Regions from separate parts of the Homo sapiens genome. Here region 2 is linked to region 1. The links are contacts of gene promoters, found by promoter capture Hi-C in blood cells and fetal thymus (Javierre and others, 2016). All regions are on one chromosome and are shown on one strand. The core of a region is centred on a gene start or on the middle of the fragment in contact, and the rest is flanking DNA. Distances in the headings are between cores, read along the strand shown.

Evidence for each region. The method cuts DNA at HindIII sites, captures the fragments that hold promoters and counts their contacts. A CHiCAGO score of 5 or more calls a contact.
Region 2: a contact is called between the fragment with the promoter of C2orf69 here and the fragment with the promoter of CCDC150 in region 1, in 1 of 17 cell types (non-activated CD4 T cells). The highest score is 6.9, in non-activated CD4 T cells.

The regions. Positions count from the first base shown.
Region 1 is chr2:196,637,892-196,644,000 of GRCh38, forward strand. CCDC150 (coiled-coil domain containing 150) reads left to right here and starts at 1,824. Exons shown (of 28, transcript NM_001080539.2): 1 at 1,824-1,887. The coding sequence starts at 1,876. LOC105373823 (a long non-coding RNA gene) reads right to left here and starts at 1,794. Exons shown (of 2, transcript XR_923747.3): 1 at 1,505-1,794; 2 at 537-676. RefSeq lists enhancers at 1,336-1,555, 1,576-1,625, 1,610-2,147, 2,148-2,685. The HindIII fragment of the contact is 4,677 bases long and covers 617-5,293 here.
Region 2 is chr2:199,906,689-199,913,133 of GRCh38, forward strand. C2orf69 (chromosome 2 open reading frame 69) reads left to right here and starts at 4,605. Exons shown (of 2, transcript NM_153689.6): 1 at 4,605-5,083. The coding sequence starts at 4,751. LOC101927687 (a long non-coding RNA gene) reads right to left here and starts at 4,458. Exons shown (of 4, transcript XR_923766.4): 1 at 4,337-4,458; 2 at 2,415-2,484. RefSeq lists an enhancer at 4,737-4,926. The HindIII fragment of the contact is 7,031 bases long and covers 1,030-6,445 here.

The sequences.
Region 1 (6,109 bases), core at 574-3,073:
ATAAATGGGGTAATGTCTGAGAACTATTTATCAACTGAAAATCAAGAGGGAAATCAGCAAGAAAATCGGTATGTTTGGCATTATTTCAATCAAAATCCTGGCAGAATTTTTGTAGGTATCAACAAGTTGATTCAAAAAATTTGGGAGAAAGGTAAAGGAACTAGAAAGTTAAAGGAACAGCCAAAACAAATTTGAAAAAGGACAAAGTTGGAGGACTATACTCCCTGATTTCAAGTTTATTGAAGACTTCAGGTCCTTTTCTCTAACTCTGTAATTGCTTAAGTTCTTATACGGTTTGCCAGACAGTGAATAAGGGAAAACAAATGAAAAACACGAATTTAATCAGTTTGGTTCCCTGACTGCTGCTTAATATGGAGATTTGAGGAGAAGGTGAAAACTCTCATTACACAAAAACACGTGGATACATGTATCACTCATCTCTTAATTCCACTGATAAACCAGAGGTCATTGCAAGATAAAACATACATAATGAAAATAATTGGCTGTTTGCACTGACGCTTTAAAATACATTTTCATTTCCTATTAAAAGCTTTATTTGGTCCCTTTCTCTGAATAATGTATGCAGTGCTCATTTCTCTTCACCGGATCGGCTCAAAGCTTGATGAATATGGCTGTGGTTTGATGGGCAGTCTCTGCATCTCACATTGAGGCTCCGCTATGAAAAGAATTAGAATAGCAAGATCAATTGTCAGGCTAAGTAAATGAGCTCTCATCTCGGATCTGATTGCTTATATGAGAGGGCTGAAGTGATTCTTGGCTGCACTCTCAGGGAGAAGAGAGAAATGCATTTTAATTGCCCTGGCAGGGATAACAGGTGTTCTGTCCAGCTACCAAAACGCAAAGCCGCGTCTTTGCACTATAGAAGGCTTTCCCTTAAGTGAGAATACATATTCTTAAAGCAAAACAACTCAGAAACGCTGGTGTGGTGATGCACGCCTGTAATCCCAGGACTTTGGGAGGCCGAGGTGGGCGGATGGCTCGAGCCCAAAGAGACCAGCCTGAGCAATATGGTGATGACCCCGCCTCCACGAAAAAATACAAAAATTAGCCAGACGTGGTGGCGCGCGCCTGTGGTCCCAGATACTGGGGAGGCTGAGATGGGAGGATCGCTTGAGCTCGGGAGGTCGAGGCTGCAGTGAGTCGAGATCGCACCACCGTAATCCACCCTTGGCGACAGAGGAAGACCCTATCTCAAAAAAGCAAACCACCAAAAAAACCAGGGACAGCTCAATGCTCTTTTCCGTTTCATAGCTACTTACACTCAGATTTACAAATACCTATTAACTTGTAGACAGGGCAAGAAATAATTTATGCTGAAGAGACGAAAGACCTGAAAACAGATTTCTGTGTTTTACTCTCCATGTGGCCATCATGGACGAGGACGAAGAGGGACTTGATTTTTCCTTTAACGAGAAGAATGTTTAAGCTCTGAATTTTTAACCAATTTTTATGCTCGTTACTCTGCTGTAGGGTATGTATTTACCAAGATTAGCAGAACACCGCGAGTTCACCAGGCGGAGACAAGTCACTGTGAAGTGGGCAGCACAGGACCCCCCGGAGGGCAGGCGCCGGAAACTACATATCCCGGCGTGCCCCGCTCGCGAGCACAGTGGAGCCTGCCGCCATTCGGTTCACGGCGCTACGCATTCCCTGAGCGCCGCCGGATGCCGGCCTGGGTCCCGCCCAGGGCTGAGGGCCCTCCTGGGCCGGGAAAACTACAGTTCCCGACATGCCCTGCCACGGGTGCGCCTGCGTACCGGAGCTACTGCGCCGGGGAGCGGGTTGGTTTAAAATGCTGTGTTAGTTCCACGGAAACCCGCTCGCCTGCTGCAGTACGGAGCCTCAGGCGGACAGATGGACTGTAAGGTGAGGCTGCCGGGCCCCGGGCTGGTGAGGGGTGGTCGGAGGCTCGCGAGGCTTCGGCTCAGATAAGGACAGTCACCACTCCCTGGCGCCCTCTCCCTGTCCTGACGGAGTCCAGTCTCACTCCCTGGACCTCAGGGCCCTGATTTAAGGCGCTTTGGCGTTGGCTGCCGGTGAAAGCCATTTAGGAGCGAAGTTTGCATTGGCCTGGCTCCAGCTGAGGGATGGGAGATAGCCACCGAAGCCTCCAGATAAGCCCAATACCACCTTTATTTATGTGTTAAGTTGGAGTTTAATAGGTTCCTGGGAAGGCTATTTCGGCGTTAATGTTTGATTTTTGCCACCAGTTAATCCTCCCTGGCTTGCTTACCAGAATATAGGTGTCAGGAATTTGCACTTGTTCTTTACGGTTTCCGCAGTACCTGGCGCTCTTGCTAGAACGGAATAGACATTCGTTAAATTCCTGTCGAAGTATTCTCCTGTTTATTTACCACCTATAATTTCCCAGGCACTGTATTAGGCTCTAAAGATAGAAAAATGTCTATTTTTAACCCCACTTTAGAGAAGTTCGTATTAGTCCGTCTTAAATGCCCCCCAACACATGCTTCTAATTTGTTAATCTTGGCGTGCTCAGGACTAGGTCCTTTAATCCTTTGTGTTCTCTGTTATCCCGCCTTATGGTTTTCTTGAGCTCTTCAGAAATTAGTCTCCAGTCCACACCTCACCCCCAAACTTCAGATCCACAAATTCAATAATGTATTTGGTATCTTTCATGTTTTAAATTTGACATTTTAAAAACTACTCTTTATCTTTTCCACAAAACGGATTCTTCCTTAATAAGTTTGCATTGTCTCAGTGATAGCACCATCCAGGCCAAAAACCCTGTAGTAATCTTGGCTTCTTCCTTTCCCTCATATCTCATATCTAATGCATCAGCAAAAGCTATCTTTCAAGTATATCTAACCACTAACCACTTCTTACAGTAGGAATACCGCTGCTGTCACCTTGGTTCTGGCCAGCAGCATCTCTACTTCTGCTTTTGTTCTTCCACCATTTGGAGTGGGAGGGAGTCAAAATGATCCAGTTAAAAGGAAAGTTGGATAGCATTCCTCAGCTATAGACCTCCAGTGACTCTGAGAATCACTGACAGCAAAAGCCAGACTTCTACAATGGCCTTCAAGGCTCTGTGTATTCTGTTTTTTGTTTTTTTGAAACGGAGTCTCGCTCTGTCGCCCAGGCTGGAGTGCAGCAGTCTCAGCTCACTGCAAGCTCCGCCTCCTGGGTTCACACCATTCTCCTGCCTCAGCCATCCGAGTAGCTGAAACTACAGGAGCACGCCACCACGCCCGGCTAATTTTTTTTTTATTTTTATTTTTGTATTTTTAGTGAGACGGGGTTTCGCCGTGTTAGCCAGGATGGTCTCGATCTCCTGACCTCTTGATCTGCCCGCCTCGGCCTTCCAAAGTGCTGGGATTACAGGCGTGAGCCACCGCGCCCAGCCGTATTCTGGTTTTATTATTACCGTCTGACCTCATCTCTCAATGTTCTCTGTGTTACTCCTTCCTCTCCAGCCAAACCCACCTCTTTATTATGTGCGGACTCATCAGACCTTCTAACTTCAGGCCTTTGCACTTGCTGTTTCCGTCTTCTGGGCCTTTCTGCCCTCTGATATCTATATAACAGGTCTTTGCTCAAATGTTATGAGGCCTTCTTTGACCACCCTGTTTAAAATGAAAATCTGCCCTGTAGCCTCCATACCATGTTCTTTCCTATTTCATTTTCCTCCTTTGCACTTATCACCAATAAACAAACTATGTATTTTACTTAGTGTCTGTCTTCTTCAGCTGGAATATAAGCTCCACGAAGGCAGGGAGTTTTGTTCGTACTGTTCTACCCAACCCCTGCCCCCCGCCTCATTGCCTATAACAGTGTGTGGCTCATGGTAAATGTTCAGGAAATATTTGTTAGATGTGTGAGTGAATGAAGACAGTGTTACCATATTATTTTCTAGTGGTTGTGATAAACAACATTGACTCCCTGGACTGTTATTTTGGAACCAACAGCATGTACTTGTATACGCTTTTGCCAGTGTACACCTATTGCCAGGTGTAGGAATGGAGCCTGTGTCCACAGAAGCATGTGTTCTCTTTTCAAAGTCATCTGGTTTTTACTAGTATATTACTTGTGACATTGGTCTTTTTCTTGCCATGCTTTCCATAAGGTTACCTGCCTAGAAGCTCTTTGGAAATATTCTCCCTAAACATCAAGACAGAATTCTGTTAGTTTGATAATAATATATGCATAGAAATTAGTTATGAATGAACTTTTTTAAAAATAAAAGTTTATATCTCAGTATTTTTATTATTGTTACTATCAAGCGTTAGGACTTAGGTTCAAGGCAGCAATCAATATTTGCTCCTTTTCAAACACAACAAAGCACAGATATGTTAAAGCTGTTGTCTCTTTGCTAGAATGTCAGCCATTAGAGGTAGATTGTTTTCATGTAAGACTGTGCTTCTTAGACTATGAGCCATAGAACTATGACTTATGAGGATCTGCCAAGTGGCCATTGGAGAGTGTGCGTGTATTTATGTATGTAGGGGTGTGGGTGGCATTTCTGCTACCACTGCTTTGGGCCTACCAGATGGGGAGGACAGGCAAGGGTATGAGCAACTGCAGTGAAAATGAGAATCTCTCTCTAACTTTAAGCCCCAACTTGGTAGATTAATTTACTGGATTGAAAGTTCTTATCTCATACTTTAACAGCCTCCCAGATACTCGGGGACTCTGCCTGGTGGCTTTAAGGCTGTCCTCTTGCTACTCAGCCATTACCGCCCCCTCCCTTGCTTCCAAGGACTCTCCTGACCTTGGCATTGTTTGGTTTTTGTTTTTGTTTTCCCATGGCGGGAAGTGGAGGTGGTGGTTGGGAGGGAAGGTTTTTAACTAACCCTGAGACTTGTTTTCATTTTTTATTTTTTTTTAGAGACAAGGTCTTGCTTTGTCACCCAGGCTGGGGTGCAGTGGCACAATCATAGCTCACTGCAGCCTCTACCTCCTGGGCTCAAGTGATCCTCCTGCGTCAGCCTCCCAAGTAGCTAGGGCTACAGGCACAGGCCACCATGCCCAGCTCATTTTTAAAAATTTTTGGAAGAGAATAGGGTCCTGCCATGTGGGCCAGGCTGGTCTGGAACTCCTGGCCTCAAGTGATCCTCCCACATAGGCCTTTCAAAAATGCTGGGACTACAGGCATGAGCCACTGTGCCTGGCCATGAGATCTGTTTTTAGTAAATCCCCAAAGGCTAGATTGGCTTATTTAATTTTTGTTTCAGCAACTTTGATGACCTGAACAGGATTCTCAGCGATTGACTAAGAGGATATTTTAAGGACAACACCATGTATTTCACTCAAAAGCTTTGTGCCCTGCCAACCATCAATCAGTGTCCGAGTCACCTCAATCTCCCCCTTCTTAGGGTGAATTTTCTATAAACCTCCTTCCCCTCAGAGGCTGGGCCAAGTTGGTTGCTCCTTTTTGAAAGTATATTTTCTCTATGGAAGCCTGAGAAGCTTCAGTGTAGAGCAGGGTCGGGTGGCACTCAGTGTGGATGCAAACCAAATTCCTACCGCGACATGTTGGACCTTCTTTTTTTTAAAACAAGTGAAGCAATTTAAATGATTTGCTGTTTTGTTTTCATGGCTGAATGTACACATGTCCTGGAGAGCCAATGTAAGCATTTAATACAGATCATAGGTTCCTTAGGGAAATATCAACAAAACTAAACATTTGAACAATTACATGAAAAAATTTTAGTTGGGAATCTGCATCCTATTCAAAATATGTGGGGGAGCTTCTCCATTTCCATTTTTTTCCAAAGACAGACTTTTGCAATATGAGTATTAGTATTATGTGCTTGGCTTCTGATATAAATGAACATAGACAAGACTCTATATTATAACCAGCTACCTGGGTCTAATAAATTGCCACAGAAATTGTTCTCCCTTCCCCTCTCCAGCACTGCTTGTCATTTTTACTTCTTCCTTCTACTTGTTTTTCCACCAGCTAATGCCTGGGCCTACTATATGTAGAAGAAAGTGACTAAAACAAACAAAAAAAAGTTTTTTATCTCACATAAGCAGAGTTTGAAGATTACTGGTTTTGCCCAAGTGTCAACATAGTCTGAGGTTCTCTGTCTTTTCCTTGTGTTTATCAGACACTGGTGATCCTTGG
Region 2 (6,445 bases), core at 3,355-5,854, 3.3 Mb after region 1:
GTTAAGTATGTTAGTTGGGTTTTTCATAATGCCCTTTATTAGGCTGAGGAAGTTCCCTTCAACTCTTAGTTTGTTGAGTGTTTTTAATCATGAGTGTTAGATTTTGTCAAATGCTTTTTCTGTGCCCATTAAGATGATTATGTCATTTTTGTTTTTTATTATATTGATATGGTATATAATGTTAATAGATTTTCAGAGATTAAAAACCAACTTTGCATTCCTGGGATAATCCCACATTTTTATGGTGTATAATTCTTTTCATATGTTGCTGGATTTGGCTTGTGTATTAGTCCATTCTTGCACTGCTATAAATAAATACACAAGACTGGGTAATTTATAAAGGAAAGAGGTTTAATTGACTCATAGTTCTGCATGGCTGCAGAGGGCTCAGGAAACTTATAATCATGGCAGAAGGGAAAGCAGCCACCTGCTTCACAAGGCAGCAGAAGTGAGAGAAGTGTGTGAAGGAAGAACTGTCAAACACTTATAAAACCATAAGATCTCGTGAGAACTCACTCACTATCACAAGAACACCATGGAGGAACCGCCCCTGTGATCCAATCACCTCCTTCCCTTGACATGTGGGGATTATAATTTGAGATGAGATTTAGGTGAGGACACAGAGCCAAACCATATCAGCTTGTTAATATTTTGTTAAGGATTTGCTGTATTTTGAATTGATTCAATTTTTTCTACCCTTTAACATTGAGTAAAGTACAATATATGCAAGTATTTTTAGCTAATTATTGCATTTGAGGATTCATTGAGTGGTAAAGATAATCTGTAAGGTCTTGACATGTAGTGATTTGCATTTTGAGGAAGTAGGTGTCTAATAAATTATATACCACAGGAACAGGGTACATGGTGTTGCTTAGCTGGTGAAACTAGCCAAAGAATAAGCTTTCAAATCCCCAAATGGCTCTATTCTCTAATTTTTATTTTATCAAGCACTTTGGGGGCCAAATTACATGCTAGAGTGGCATACCTCATATGAAGCCTGTTCCTCTCAAGGCCCAGTTTTGGCAAACAAGCTTATTAAAACACAAAAAAATACCTATTCAAAACCAAGAATAATTTTTTAAAACTAAAACTTTTCAATCTCTTAAAGAACATCAAATGGGATCCAATTAAAATCTCACAGAACTTCTCAAAATCATTTCCCCACTCCTCTCCCTCTCAACTGCTCACAGAAAGCCACATTTAAGGGCTTTTGCTGCTCGCCCACCCCCACCCCCCCGCTTTTTTTTTTTTTTTTTTAAAGACAGACTCTTACGGTGTTGCCCAGGATAGAGTTCAGTGGCTCAATTTTGGCTCACTGCAACCTCCGCCTCCCGGGTTCAAGTGATTCTCCTGCCTCAGCCTCCCGAGTAGCTGGGATTACAGGTGCCCACCACCATGTTTGGCTAATTTTTGTATTTTTAGTAGAGACAGGGTTTCACCATGTTGGCCAGGCTGGTCTCGAACTCCTGACCTCAAGTGATCCGCCTGCCTCGGCCTCCCAAAGTGCTGAGATTACAGGTGTGAGCCACTGTGCCCGGACTTTTTTGTCTTGTCTATTTTTTTCCCCCATCTCCTGCCTTCCTGTATCCACCCATTTCACCTTTCAGTAGAGAAGCTGCACATTTGTGGCCCCTAGGCCAAATATGGCCTATGTGTGCATTTAATTTAATACGGTGTTTTACAAGCAAATTTAATTAGTTGTCAACATTTACAAGTTGGCAAATGAAACATAAAAATCTGTATCTGATTTGTGTCGAGAAATCTCTTAACAAGTTTGAAGGTTTGGCAAAATGTTGCCTTCATTTTACAACTGGCTAGCAGTGAATAGTGACTGCCTTCTTCAAATATGACATCTCTCTAGTTTGCCAGTGTTTACATTCCCTATTGTTTATTTGTGGCCAATTTTACTATTTATAATATAGACCTGGCCCCTGTAGATATTGGAGTTTGTGCCTTTTAATGCTGTCCTTTCCATTGTAAATTAGCCTTTCTCAGATTCCTTCCAATTTTGCAACTTTTCTATTATATTGAATAGCATTAAAAAGGTCTGAGAGCTCAGCAGGATCCCTTGAGAACTCTCAAGAGTCCAGAGGTGAGCTATAGCCTTTTGGACACTATAAGCATTAATATAATCCCTGTGCAGAACCCTATCAGTTAGAGAAGAGAAAACTCACACAACTGATTAGAGTAACTTTGTATATGTAAGACCTCTTTCCGGGATGGAAAACCAGCTCTGAGAAAAGGGAGAATGCTTGGCCATCTGTGCCAGTGTTGTTAGAAAAGTAGTGATTTACAAAATCGGTCTCCTAGAAGACAGAGGGGATGGAGACAGAAAACAGGTATTACAGTAATATCAAGGGGACCTGTGAGAAGGAATTGCAACGGCAATGACTTGCCATAAATGACATACATACCTCAGCTAATCAATTGAGAGCTGTTACTTTCTCTGGAGGTGTCTCCTACAGGGCTGTACAAATCCCTTGACTGTAAGGAAACATTTGTGCTTACTTTAGTCTGTTTCTTTACTCTACTCTTTAAATTCTTACTTGTATTTCTCAAAGACCTTAATTATCTTAGCGATACTGAGACAACTTTGTGGCATTTAATATTTGCTACAATTTTCCTTATAAAACACATTCTCCACTCTCTTCAATAAGAATAGATTTCATTAAGGCAGGGCATGGTGGCTCCTGCCTGTAATCCCAGCACTTTGGGAGGCCGAGGCGGGTAGATCACCTGAAGTAAGGAGTTCGCAACCAGCATGGTCAACATGGAGAAACCCTGTCTCTATTAAAAAAATACAAAAATTAGCCGGGCGTGGTGGCACATGCCTGTGATCTCAGCTACTAGGGAGGCTGAGGCAAGTGAATCGCTTGAATCTGGGGGGCAGAGATTGCAGTGAGCCGAGATTGTGCCACTGCACTCCAGCCTGGGTGACAAAGCAAGATCTTGTCTTAAAAAAATAAACTTAAAAATAAAAATAGATTTCATTATAAGGTCAAGCTAAAAACAAGACCACAAATCAAAAGCTGCATTTGCAATTCATGTACATGTTTGGACTTTTAGATAACATTTCAGCAATCCTCTATCTAACAATGGAAAGTAACATGTTTGCAATTGGCAAAACAGAGTGACGTCAGGTTGCCTAAATGTCATTATATACTAATTATTGTATAACTAACCTCTACTTGTTTTTAACCAGTTATTTTAGAAAGCGGCAGATTTCCTTAGTAATTAATTGAATAATTTTTGATTGATAACAATATTTTGATGTCAGATGGAATGCAACAATTTAGACCAGAGTAGGTTAGCATACTAAGTCACCAAGTCTATACATATATATAAATCATATTTTATCATTTGCTCATTTATGTTCCTACTCCAAGCCATTTGTTATTATTTGCATATGTAGACCAAAGAAAACAGTATGTGTGCTTAAATACACATATATAAACTCCGAACAATTATATATAAAGTGCTTAGATTTCTGGCCTATAGTAAACCCTCAACAAATGTTGGCTGTAGTTTTTTGTAATTTTCATTAATTATTCTCTTTACAGTGCTTTGTCTCACAAGTACTTGGATCTCATCCTCGCTCGCACACATTTCCCTGTTTTGTTTGTTTTTGGTTTATTTTTTGAGACAGGGTCTGCTTCTGTTGCCCAGGCTGGAGTGCAGTGGTGGGATCACAACTCATTGCAGCATACAACTCCTGGGCTCAAGCGATCCAATCTCCCATCTCAGCCCTCCCAGTAGCTTGGACTATAGGCATGCACCACCACGCCCGGCTAATTAAAAAAAAAAATTTAGTAGAGACAAGGCCTCCCTATGTTGCCCAGGCTGGTTTCAAACTGCTGGACTCAAGTGATCCTCCGCCTCGGCCTCCCACAGTGCTGGGAGTACAGGCCTGAGCATACATTTCGCCAAATCTTATTCCTACTCAACTGGCCACAGATAGTTGCTGGACACACATGACTTTCCTACACTGTTTAGTTTTTGAAAACCTCCAAATAGCAAAACACCAAGTAAAGCGTACTGCCTCGCCCCGTTTTTTTCCTGTCCTAGATCATGTACCCTGTTCCCAAACAGAGATGAATTAGCTTCATATCTAACCACAAATTCTCCATGAGCACAGAGATCTTCGTATATCTATAATAATTGTACTCAGGAAACTCAAGGTATGAGGAGAGAGATTCCCTTCCTTCGGGGCTTGTAGGAGACTTCCCACGGAATCTTCTTTGGGAATGTCTCCCTTTTAAGCCCTGAAAGACCAGATAAATCTCAGGTGAACCTAGAGAAACAGGGAGCTTCGTATACTCAAAAGTCTATACATTACGTATTATTGAACGGCGACCTGCGGCCGCCCCTGCTGCTGCGCATGCTCCATAACTGCCGCTTGCTATAGCTGGGAGTACTGTATTATCTCTTTGCTCTTCGCCGGCTCTTCCCCAGACTTCTGTTCGAACTTCCCGGCCGCGGCAGAACCCACCAATCACAAACGCCCTTCCTCAAGCCACGCCCACCGTCTTCTCCGGGATCCCAAGACCGATTTCGCCCACACCCCTCCCTTCCTTTCCTTACGCACGCTGCGCGCGGACGTCGGCCTCTGACGTCGTCGCCTCAGCGCCGGCTCCCGGCCGGGCCGCGGCCGCCGACCGTTGAGCCGCCGGCTGAGCCGCCTGCTGAAGTCCCTCCCTCAGGAACCCCTCCGCCACCCTCCACCTCCGAACCGCTCTCGCGGCGGCGACCCATGTGGGGGTTCAGGCTCCTGCGGTCGCCGCCGTTGCTGCTCCTGCTGCCGCAGCTCGGAATCGGAAACGCCTCGTCCTGCTCTCAGGCCAGAACCATGAACCCGGGCGGCAGCGGCGGCGCGCGATGCTCCCTCTCGGCCGAGGTGCGCCGCCGTCAGTGCCTGCAGCTTTCCACCGTGCCTGGAGCCGATCCGCAGCGCAGCAACGAATTGCTCCTGTTGGCGGCGGCCGGGGAGGGACTGGAGCGGCAGGACCTCCCCGGGGACCCAGCGAAGGAGGAGCCGCAGCCGCCGCCCCAGCATCACGTCCTCTATTTCCCTGGGGATGTGCAGGTAACTCGGGGCCTGCCTGGGTATCTGTTCCTTCCTCTCGTGTATACGTACGCGGTCACTGATTCTTCCCTCGTGGCTGCTGCCTGGTTCCTTTCCTTGCCTGAACACACCCACACATTCACTGAGGGTGGCTCTTCCTCTACTCCACGAAATCCAAAACCGTGCCTTCCACGCCCTTGGCGCCCTTTGTCCATAGAACCCCATGGGGAAGGTGTCCGACGAGGGCTACGATCTCGAAAGAGCCAGCTGTCGGTCCAGGTTTCCAAGAGGCGGAATTTGAGACAGGGAGTGACACGCATCTTGTATATTTATTCTATAATTTGGTTTCTCAGAGGACCGTGTGTGTGTGTTGGGCAGGGGACAGAGCGATGGCTTTCAAATTAAGTTAGCACGTAGTGTTTAGAAAACGGTGGCAGTAATTAAAAACCAAACAAACATTACAAAGGTATGACATCCAGTAACCCTAAAAAAGAGTGGGGATGGGTGGAAGAAAAGGGACAATAATTATTAAGCATGTCAATGTTTTGATGCTCACCTCTTTTGTACTTTTGCTTTTGCATGTTATGTTTATTATTTTATAGCTGCAGGTAAATATCCGTGGTTATGTTGCCCTGAAAACTGGGTCTTAATCTAACGTTGCATTATCTAATATGGTAGCCATTAGCCATATATGGCTATCTGAATTAATTAAAATTAAATAAAACTAAAAATCCAGTTATTCATATTAGCTGCATTTCAAGTGCTCAGTAGCTACAGATGGCTTGCGTGTGCTGTATTGGACAGCACAGATATATAGCATTATCATAGAAAATAATCCATCATCATAGAAAGTTCTAGACAGGTAAAGCTAGACTATAGCTAGGTATGTTTCTCTTTTTTGTTTTTTTGAGACGGAGTCTTGCTTAGTTGCCCAGGCTGGAGTGCAGTGGCGCAGTCTCGACTCACTGCAACCTCCGCCTCCCGGGCTCAAGTGATTCTCGTGCCTCAGCCTCCCGAGTAGCTGGGATTACAGGCATGCGCTACCACACTGAGCTAATTTTTGTATTTTTAGTAGAGATGGGGTTCCACCATGTTGGACAGGCTGGTCTCGAACTTCTGACTTCAAGTGATCTGCCCACCTTGGCCTCTGAAAGTGCTGGGATTATAGGTGTGAGCCACCGCGCCCGGCCTACATGTGTTTCTTATACTATGAAACTACATTAGTTTATTTTCAAAATTGGTGCCTTAAAATGACATACTTAGAAACTGTGCTCTGAGTCAGATAATGATTAAGATATAGATATAGATATATAGATATAGATATAGATATTCTCTTTTTTTTTCCAGTTTTTATTAGCAGTCAACTAAACCAGTTATTTTGAG